3 separate regions of the Homo sapiens genome follow, and all the other regions are linked to region 2. The links are contacts of gene promoters, found by promoter capture Hi-C in human tissues and cell types (Jung and others, 2019). All regions are on one chromosome and are shown on one strand. Each heading gives the region's core, a stretch centred on a gene start or on the middle of the fragment in contact. The rest is flanking DNA. Distances are from core to core; before and after follow the strand shown.

Region 1 (3,749 bases), core at 371-2,870, 590 kb after region 2:
TTGTGTGACAACAGAGGAATCTATTAATCAACCTGACCTTCAAAATTATCTCTAAAATGAAAGGTTGAACTGATACGTAAAGGTCTATCCAGTTCTCTATGCTCTCACATAGAAACTTGCATGGTATTACAACTTTTTACTTCCTTTGGAGTAAGGTAGAAGAACTTGTAGGTAGAAGCACTTGTCAAATGAATGGAAACACTCCATTCACTTTGTAAAAAGTACTAACTAATGTCTGTGGTACAGTAGATGCTCATGGCTCATAGGCCTAACTGGTTCTGCTTCTACTAGTTGTATAATACGCTTACCAAGAATCAGCCACGTTGGTTCCCCAAACTGTTTTTGTGCTTGTTCTTTTACGTGTTTGGTTCAACAATACAAAATTGATGATAATCAACCACATGACAATTCATATGGTGATTCCAAATGGTTCAATTCAATACATAACACTTATAAATAAACTTCAAAAATATATAATTATAAAATAACACAATAAGGGAATTATGGATTCTATGAAAACCAAGTTGAATGTTTGAGAAGGCTTGATAAATCCAAGTCACACACACAAAAACACTGTCAAGTTAGGTGTAACTCTACAACTACATGAAAATCTGCAAGGATTCTGTGCTCAGACTACTTCTCGTATGTGTTAAGATAATGTAAGAACTCTAATTAGCACTCGCTATCCCCCAAACCTTGCCATACATATATATATTCACTGTTTTATGTATGTATATAAAGTTAGTGAATACATACATATTCACATATTTTAAGTTGAAGTGTTTAAGACCAAGATTGGCAAGCTTTTTCTGTAAAAGGCCACACAAATATTTTACACTTTGCAGGCCAAACATGGTCTCTGTTGTATATTCTTAGTTGTTTTATTTTTTCCAACTATTTAAAAATTTAAGAATCATTTTTGGCTGGGCGCGGTGGGTCACGCCTGTAATCCCAGCACTTTGGGAGGCCGAGGCGGACGGATCACAAGGTCAGGAGATCGAGACCATCCTGGCTAGCACGGTGAAACCCCGTCTCTACTAAAAATACAAAAAATTAGCCGGGCGTGGTGGCGGGCACCTGTAGTCCCAGCTACTCGGGAGGCTGAGGCAGGAGAATGGCGTGAACCTGGGAGGTGGAGCTTGCAGTGAGCCAAGATCGCGCCACTGCACTCTAGCCTCCTGGGCAACAGAGCAAGACTCTGTCTCAAAAAAAAAAAAAAAAAAAAAAAAAGAAAGAAAAAAAGAATCATTTTTATTTTTCGCTTTCAGGACATACACAAACAGATTATGACTAGAGTTTCCCAATACCCAGTTTAAGATATATATATATACACGTGTATATATACGCGTATATATATACACATATATATGTTTTACCAACTCTTATTTTGATAAACTGACCAATTATTGATCCCAATCATATCAGATTAAGAAAGCCTCTCCCCTATTACAAAATATGCATCTAATTCTCAGTTAATTGAAATAACTTCTTCCCACCCCAATAAAAGTTTTAAGACTAGGAATAGTCTTTCATTGAATTTATAAAAATAGTACATTTTTTTCATGTGTTATATGAAGTTTCTTAACCTTTCCATGTGAGATTATGTAGCTTCATTTTTAACTTCAAAACCAAGACATTTAAGTCGAAATAGGTAAACACTGTCTAGTCGGTTTTGTAACATTTATAATCATAGTAAGACTAAAAATATACAATGCCCCAAAAGATAAGACCAAAGTAAACTCTTTCAGAAATTAACTTTGAATTTTGACTACAAAGCTCTGTATCATTTTGATTTTTAAAAAATCTCAAGTAGGCAAAATTAAACAGATTAAAAACACTGAATGGTAACATAAAAATATTATAAGAATAAAACATGGCAAGATAATAAAAGGAAGTTTAGTTAGACCACAAACTATGGAAGGTCATGATGGGTGTAGCTTATACCTAATTCCACAGGCAATTTGATATGGTGTAGTTTTCCAAGATTCCGCATCAACCTGTTTACCATCAGGCAAAGTGACTTTAATTGGCTTGCTATCTTTTTCTGCCTTTTCTGCCAGAATGGAATCATGTTCTGCTTTTAGTATATTATACATCTCAAGACGTGTGTAAATATATTCAGGCCAAGGATTCAACTGCAAGACAACAAACAAATCAGGAAATAAATGATCAGTAAATATTGCTTTCCTATTTAGAAATGGGAAAGAAATAATAAAAACAATACAGAAACCCAGGACTATTGATTCAATGTGGTAAATAAACACTGCCAAAATCACCCGGCATTACCTCAATTTGGTTCTAAATGAAGGTAAAAGAAGGAATTAAATGCCCTATTCTTATGCTGAATCGACAATTACCATTTTGCTACTATTTACAGCAAGTGGTCTTTTCTCTTTTAAGATGTCTTCTTAGGATCTTTTCTAACTAAATTATTTTACAAATAGAGCTATAAACAATACTGGAAATAAAAACAATAAACTGGCTTTTCTATTTTGTTTCATTCATGTCCAGGTGATGGTCTGTGCAGCGGGTCAGCCTATATGTCCACTCACAACCAATCACAAATTTCTTTGACTTAAGGTCTCCCCTTCAAGGAAAGTATTTACTGAATTCAAAGATGCCATGATCAGCTTGGAGTATGTAATTAGCAACTATATAAAACAACACACTACTACTTTCTATAGCAGATAAAATTAACAAAAATATTCTATATAAAACACCCACTTAGGTTTCTAGAGGTTTGGCAAAGAAAGAAAAAGAGACAGCAATCAGAGAGCTGACTTCTTCTACTGTCACTCTATAATCTATGGAACATTTCAAAAAGGCAGTGAATCTGTGGTAACAAAACAGTCAAACTAACATCTACAGCATTCATCATCTTCAAATTACATGAACATTAACACTTCATACAAAAGTGAAGAGGAGATTGCTTAATTTTGCCATGACTTTCTATCTTCAAATGAATTTCAATCTATCAGATATAAAATGACTTACTGCAATACAGATTTTAACATTTATTCAATGTTGATAATGCTACCAACGTCTCCATACATATGTCTCCATATATATCAACATACCACAATTTGAAAGGAGTACAAGGGAATATCTAATCCTTAAGAAACTGACTGGGGCAGGGCATGGTGGTTCATTCCTGTAATCCCAGCACTTAGGGAGGCCAAGGCAGATGGATCACTTGAGGCCAGGAGTTCGATACCACCCTGGCCAACATGGCAAAATCCTATCTCTACTAAAAATACAAAAATTAGCCAGGTGTGGTGGCGCACACCTGTAGTCCCAGCTACTTGTGGGGCTGAGGCATAAGAATTGCTTGAACCTGGGAGGTGGAGGTTGCAGTGAGCCAAGATTGGGCCACTGCACTCCAACCTGGGCAACAGAGTGAGACCTTGTCTCAAACAAAACAAAACAAAACAAAATTGACTGGAGATAATAGAAAATAATATCAAATGAAAAAGATTAATTGTCTGCCCAGTAATTCCTTCCCTCCCTCCTTCTTTCCATTCTTTAACGACAGGGTTTCACTATGTTGCCTAGGCTGGCTGGAGCGCAGTGACTATTCACAGGCACAGTCACAGCGCATTTTGGCCCCAAACTCCTGGGCTCCAGTGATTCTCCCACTCAGTCTCAAGTGATTGGTTCCTACCACCGTATCAGGCCCTAATATCTTTGTAATTCCCACCCACAGCAGTCCCTCCCTTTCTTTAGTCGTTCAGTTGTTGAGAGCTTTTCAT
Region 2 (3,397 bases), core at 258-2,757:
GAACTGTGGCCTGGAGAGCTTTTAGTTCACAGAGTAACTCTCTCCCTCCGTCCCCAGCACCAAACCCTTTCCATGTATAAGTGTGGACTCTGGAAGCGGCTGTTCTGGTAGCTGCAGGAGGGGCCAGGCTAGTTTTGACAGTTCTGGCCACTTCCAGAGATGGCTCTTGGTTCTCAGGCCCTTGGCTGAGCAATGGGGGCAGCTGTCAACAGCTCTCTCTCCTCTCCCCTTTCCCCAGCTGCTCTGACTCTTCATCAGCAGGCTGAGCTTCTCCAAGCCTCAGTTTCCCACAGTGCCTCCTCGCCCCCTTCTCATCAGACGCTTGCCACCCATGCTATTTACGGTCCTGGGTCTCTCCAGTTTTCATGAGAGAAGGCCAGTAACATTTTCTTAAGCGAGTGAATGAGTAATATAAATAAAATCATATGTAAATAGAAGCAATTTTTGATGACAAAACTGTTTAAATTCTCTTAATTTATTATCCTGAAGCAATTAGGAATGTCCATTTTCTTTTTGGCTGAATTAATAAAAGTATAGCAACTAAAGCAAAGACATGAGAATCCTCTTAATCTGGATACGCTGTGTTTGAAATAACGTGTTTGGTGCTTTCCACTTCTTCAGTTTTGTTATTTATTTATTTTTTAAGTAGAGACAGGGTCTCACTAAGTTGCCCAGGCTGGCCTCGAATTTCTGGGCTCAAGGGATCTACCTGTCTTGGGCTCTCAAGGTGCTGGGATTACAGGCATGAGCCACTGTGCCCGGCCCCGTTTCTATTTTAATCAAGAATATGTCAAAAGAAAGAGGAGCCAGAGACAGCCTTCTCTTAACACAAAGCAGGGTGTTGTATCTTCATCTGACAATAAGTGACTTAGTTAACTTTGATTTAATTTTGGCTTTTGGGAAGTCATGGGGAAAAGAAGTAAAGCTGAGGGTGGCGAAATACCTTTGCTAAACCCAGAGACACTGCACCTGAATCCTGCTCAGTGTTTTGTAGGCAACCAACTGCCTTCTGCCACTGGTATCCGGAAGGGGAAATGAGTTACCTTAAGTGGGCCAAAGTGGGGAAATACTAACAGTACAGCTAGAAACCAAGAGCTGTCGTGAAAGCCCTGAATGGGTTCCCACTGCTATTTCAGACAAAACTGATGCAGTTAAGCCTGAATTTCCTGGCAAGCACAAGGGTAGATTTTTCCAAAAGGCTTTTTAGACTGCAAATACACAGCCTTTCCATGTCTAATCACAAAAGCAAACTGCTGGACACATGCTCTCTGTTCCCAGCTGGTTGTGTATGTTTTCTTCACACTTCAACAGAAACGTGCCAAGGTGTGACATTTATGAATTTCGCCAACTGGGAACTGTGCACACAAATCGTTCTTGCTTGTGGTGTGGGAAAATGATGAATGGGGGCTGTTCTGCCTGGGGAGGAGGGCTGCTGTCACTCTGGCATGCCTACAGCCTTATTTATTACACACCAAAGTATAAAACCACTCCGCCGCTGCAGCTCTCAGCTCCAGTCCTGGCATCTGCCCGAGGAGACCACGCTCCTGGAGCTCTGCTGTCTTCTCAGGGAGACTCTGAGGCTCTGTTGAGAATCATGCTTTGGAGGCAGCTCATCTATTGGCAACTGCTGGCTTTGTTTTTCCTCCCTTTTTGCCTGTGTCAAGATGAATACATGGAGGTGAGCGGAAGAACTAATAAAGTGGTGGCAAGAATAGTGCAAAGCCACCAGCAGACTGGCCGTAGCGGCTCCAGGAGGGAGAAAGTGAGAGAGCGGAGCCATCCTAAAACTGGGACTGTGGATAATAACACTTCTACAGACCTAAAATCCCTGAGACCAGATGAGCTACCGCACCCCGAGGTAGATGACCTAGCCCAGATCACCACATTCTGGGGCCAGGTACTCAGAATTCTCTTCTAAGGATTTTTGTGAAAGCTTAATGAGTGTTGTTGTTGTTGTTTTGTTGTTGTTCTTTTTTTGGCTAAGATTCTTAGAATCAATGAATGCTTTCGAGAAGTTCGCTAAGCTGCTTGTGAATCTCTTTCTGGATTGCTCTTGGGTACAAGAGAGACTGTCGGTCTCTGTTAGAAAATCAGCAGAGGCAGCAATGATGTGATGGGATAGTGGCCGTAGCATCACCCCATCAGAAAGGGGAACCTGGCCAGCCAGCTTCCTGCTATGCTGGGACTTGATTTCCTTCTTGCTCTGTTGGTCCGGAAAGGAGTGCTGACCCATGCAGACAGATCGGTCACTGTAGACAATCATTTGTTGTTCTTAAGAGAATTGGGCTTTCTTCATCCCTTCCGGCAGGGAGAAGCTGCCCTTTGAGTTTGTCAAAAGCAATCAAAGTTTTTTTACTTTGATTTGTGAGTATACTGTGACATTTCATGGCAGTCTTGTTTATTTGATTTATAGCATTCTAGATTGTTAAGCCTCTCTGTTCAGCCTGTTTTAAAAAGAATTAAAGAGTTAAATAAAAAATAAACTGTTTGAAATGCATACCTTATAGCATGATTTGATGCCTGATAATCACAGAGGACTTGATCTATTTCTCAGGTTATAAATTCAGCTCTAAGGAAATATCTTTAACTCTTGGTAGTATGAGAGTGAGTTAAGATTTCAGTATAGTGAATTGCAAATTGGTGAAACTCAATGTAATTTAAAATATTAAGTACAGGAAGAGACATATTTTGAATTACCCTCTAGACATCTAGTATGCTGAAAACTGTCAGAGGGGGCAAGAAGAGTTACTTTGAGTTATATGATATTTGAACATACAGGTTTTTACTACAAGATTTGATTACTTTAATGCATTAAATAGGACCTGAAGAATTTCTTGTAATTGAAATCTAAATCCTTCCTACCATGGATTCAGAAGTTTGGGTTGGTTGTTTGGTTATATGGTCAGACCAAGATCACACACAGAATCAATTGCAGATTTGAAACTAACCCAGAACTTCTAACTTGACCACACAAGGCAGTTGCCCAAACCATTCTGTGGGGGATGCATCCAGAGAAAATTGCTTCTTTAAGGAGCCACGGAAGAAATGATAATCTCTAAATATGATCCTATCTTTTGAAAACCACTTTTAGAGATTGTCTATTCATCTGATAATCTTTTGGCTAAAGGGTAATGATTAGCACTAATTTGTGTGTGGGTTTTTGTTTGTTTTTGTTTTGTGGTGAAGATATTTTCACTTGTGTCCAAGACTTGATCTGGACTTTCCATTTCACACATGGTATCCTTCTTGGCCAACAGATGGTATCTTTCCTGGCCATGACAGTGTGATTCCCCCAGAGGAAGCAGAAGGAAGTTAAAGGTTGTCTTTGGTCATTATGTCCTGACAACCAACACCCAGCAGGCCACTGAAATTCAAATCACATTTCTCCTTCACTCTA
Region 3 (3,723 bases), core at 475-2,974, 540 kb after region 2:
CTTCCATCCCTATTGACACCTGTCACTCCTCTCCATTGACAGTGGAGTCTATTTCCTCTCTCTTTGAATCAGGGCTGGTCTATGGTTGCGCTGACCTACAGAATGTGGGAAAAGTGGCACCCTGCTGATTGCAGGCCGGGGCTTAAGAAACCTGGCAGCTTCCAGTTTGCCCTCCATGGCCATGAGCTATTGTATTAAAAATAATGCAGTATACGGTTGGAGAAAAGAAAGCAACTAAGGCAGCAGACATGTGAGTCAGACATATCTAGCCCCAGCCAAGGCGTTCCAGCCAACACCATGTGGAACAGAGACCAGCATGCCCTACCCAGTCCTGCCCACGTGGCAGCATCCCACTAACAAGGATCTGGGTTTCGCTGTTTTCAACCACCAAGTTTTGGGGTAGTTTGCAATGTAGCAATAAATAGCATACATTTAAAACATGAAACTTTGAAAGAAACAAATACGAAACTTGTCAATTAACACAAAAAATATGTCCGGGGAATAAAACCCAACTTCTGGATCTACCGTCTACTCTCAGGAGTGAATCATGTTTAATTGGATCCAAAGAAAGTTATTGGTTTTAGAAAAGCAGAGGACTCAGCATCCAGCTTACAGGAAATTAATAAGAAAGTGATTAGTGAAAATTGGAAACAGGTAGATAGAGAATAATCATTCCAGAAATTAGAGTAACCCAGTGGTTTTCAATCCTACCAATAAACCAGAATCATCTGGGGCCCTTTCAAAAGTGCAGATTTCTGGGTCCCATGCTTTAAGATCCTGACTTAAATAATCTGGGGTGGATCCAGAATAGCATTCTGAAATACTGCTGGGGTTTATAGGGGACTATGAAGAATAAAAATAAGCCTGCAGCTGAAAGGCCAATGGTTAATTATAATATATTATGTATTTCAAATAGCAAAAAGAGGATTTTAAGGACTCATCACAAAGAAATGATAAATACTTGAAGTGATGGATGTGCTAATTACCTTGATTTGATCATTCTGGCACTGGTTTCCAGTTTCTTGTTTCCTGTTGGCCTGGGGCCCCAGCTTTTTGTCTTTCAACTGTCCTGGATTTCTGGTGCCAGGATTTGACCTCACTGATGTGGACTTGCTGCCTTGACCCACAGAACCTCCATCCCACATGGACTCCCTGCTCTGCACTCTCAGAACTGGCCTTCCTGGACCTGACCTCTGTCTTGCCTTACTTAGGTACCTACTGTGGATACTTCCTTCCAAGAAGTATATATTTATGATGTATATCAGATTGTACACCATAAATACACACAATTATTATTTGTCAATTAAAAATCAAACTTTTTTAAAATAAAAAATGGGTTTTTTAATTTTTTTTTTTTTTTTTTTTTTTTAGAGACAGGATATCTGTTGCCTAGGCTGAAATGCGATGGTGCAACCGTAGCTCACTGTTACCTCAAACTCTAGGGCTCAAGTGATCCTCCTGCTTCAGCCTCCAGAATAGCTGGGACTACAAGTGTGCACTTGCACAGCTAATATTTTATTTTTATAGAGAGGGGGTGCTGTGAGCCACCATGACTGGCCCCTAAAAATGTGTTTCAAACTTGCAAATATATGGCTTTTTGTTTGTTTGTTTGATTTTCTATCTAAATTGCATTGTTATCTGAGAATACAATGTGTAATTGGACTAGGGCTAGAAATTTGGGCTAGGGCTTTATCTGTCATTTTGTTGCATAACAAAGAATGAATATTTTACAATATAAAAAGCTTATATAAAGTAATGAGACAAAATGCTTTTCTTAACGTGAGAAAAGGACAGGAACTAGTAGTTATGGCCTCAAACTAGCCTATAAACATTAAAAAATCCAAATTAAAAACAATACACTGTTTTATCGACAAAATTTGCTAATGTTTATAAAATTCTAACACAGGAACGTTGTGTTAGAATGGCCAAAATACCAAAGAATAAGAATTCACAAACAGTGATGATAGAATTATCAATTAGTACCGTATTTCAGAAAAGCAGTGGGGCCCTATATATCAAAGAATGTTCAAAATGTGTATGCCCTTTGACTCAGTAGTTTCACTTTTAAACACTTATTCTCTCAAAATAATAGATACCAACAAAAGATACATATATAATACCTTTATTGGGATAGAAATGGAATACTAAAGTCATAAAAAGGAGGAGGAAGTGTATACTCTACCCCAAAAGGCTAATATAGTAAATGTGAGTGATGTCAATTCTATCTGTGCCAATCTAGAAAAGAGTAATACAATGTGTTGCATAACCCTTGGAATGGGAAATAAGGAAATCAATTTTTTAGAATGAGTTTAAAATAAACTCATCATGTGGTGCCTTATATAGGACACGCTGTAGGTCATTTTAATCAATAAACTTAATGGTTTTACAGCAAATCTGATCCTCACACTGTCTAAAAAATAAATTAATAATGAGTAGGAGGGGACTAAATTAATGTCACATAAATATATAGCTTTATTATAATTAATGTAATATACAGATCTTACAATTCAACAAAAAGTAAATGAATAACATATCCCTAAGACAATCTGGACTAAATGTCATTTTCCTCTGCTTAGCTGTTGAAAGTAATGAAATAATCGATAATTCAAGGTTATTTTCCAACTGGAATATTTTCGGAGCAGTTATCATCCATTTTGCCACTCAGCTGTAGAAAAAGTCCAGCAATGTTCCTGTGGAACAGTGGATTCTGAACGGGGTAATTTCCTGACACACCTGCCAGAATGAATTAGCTACCTATTGCACAGCCAGGCACCTGCACGCCATGATCTGTTGCATGGAGCTATTTAAATTCTGGTGAATGTGAAGGAAGCCAAATTATTTCCCCCAAAATACTGAGGATTGTTAAGTTAAACACACTGAATGAACTTAGGGAAATGCTCTGCCCCAGCCTCTGTTTGCCCAATGGCAGGACATCAACTCTTCCTTACTGGAGACAGCTCTGGCTCATCAGCCCAGAGCAGGTACCAGCAGGCACCAGAGGAATCTGGGAACAGATTTTACTATCTTCCCACATTTCCCCACCATTTATTTATTTATTTATTTGAGACAGAGTCTCACTCTGTCACCCAAGCTGGAGTGTGGTGGCACAATCTCGGCTCACTGCAACCTCTGCCTCCCAGGTTCAAGCGATTCTCCTGCCTCAGCCTCCCAAGTAGCTGAGACTACAGGCATGCACCACCACATCCAGCTAATTTTTTGTATTTTTAGTAGAGATGGGGTTTCACTATGATGGCCAGGCTGGTCTCAAACTCCTGACCTCAGGTGATCCACCCAACTCGGCCTCCCAAAGTGCTGGGATTACAGACATGAGCCACTGCTGCCCAGCCCCCACCCTTTAAAAGACTAGAACTGAGCCAAGCACAGTGGCTCATGCCTGTAATCCCAGCACTTTAGGAGGCTGAGGCCGGGAGATCCCTTGAGGCCATGAGTTGGAGAACCACCTGGGCAACATAAAAAGACCCTGTCTCTACAAAAATTTAAAAATTAACCAGATGTGGTGGTGCACACCTGTAGTCCTAGTTACTCAGGAGGCTGAGGTGGGAGGATTGCTTGGGCCTGGGTGATGGAAACTTCAGTGAGCCATGATTGCCACTGCAGTCTAGGCTAGGTAATATAATGAGGCCCTCTCTCTCACAACAACAACAAAAAAAAAAAAAAAAAAGAAAAGGAAAAAGAAAAAAAGAAAAAAGAAAAAAAAAGGCT

What was found. Contacts are between HindIII fragments. The study calls those that stand out against the background at their distance.
Region 1: a fragment that was not itself captured here is called in contact with the fragment with the promoter of C1QTNF3 in region 2 in 2 of the 25 tissues and cell types used here (dorsolateral prefrontal cortex and hippocampus).
Region 3: a contact is called between a fragment that was not itself captured here and the fragment with the promoter of C1QTNF3 in region 2, in 1 of the 25 tissues and cell types used here (lymphoblastoid cells).

What each region holds. Positions count from the first base shown.
Region 1 is chr5:33,446,927-33,450,675 of GRCh38, reverse strand. It overlaps TARS1 (threonyl-tRNA synthetase 1), which reads right to left. Exons shown (of 19, transcript NM_152295.5): 3 at 1,945-2,135. Among named protein-coding and RNA genes, the nearest start is that of TARS1, 7.8 kb to the right of the region's middle. RefSeq lists enhancers at 1,878-2,391, 2,392-2,905. The HindIII fragment of the contact is 7,416 bases long and covers 1-3,749 here.
Region 2 is chr5:34,041,323-34,044,719 of GRCh38, reverse strand. It overlaps C1QTNF3 (C1q and TNF related 3), which reads left to right and starts at 1,507. Exons shown (of 6, transcript NM_181435.6): 1 at 1,507-1,897. The coding sequence starts at 1,595. The region is part of intron 1 of C1QTNF3-AMACR (C1QTNF3-AMACR readthrough (NMD candidate)); the gene reads left to right. The HindIII fragment of the contact is 5,092 bases long and covers 1-3,397 here.
Region 3 is chr5:33,497,844-33,501,566 of GRCh38, reverse strand. No RefSeq gene overlaps it. Among named protein-coding and RNA genes, the nearest start is that of TARS1, 59 kb to the right of the region's middle. The HindIII fragment of the contact is 3,492 bases long and covers 1-3,470 here.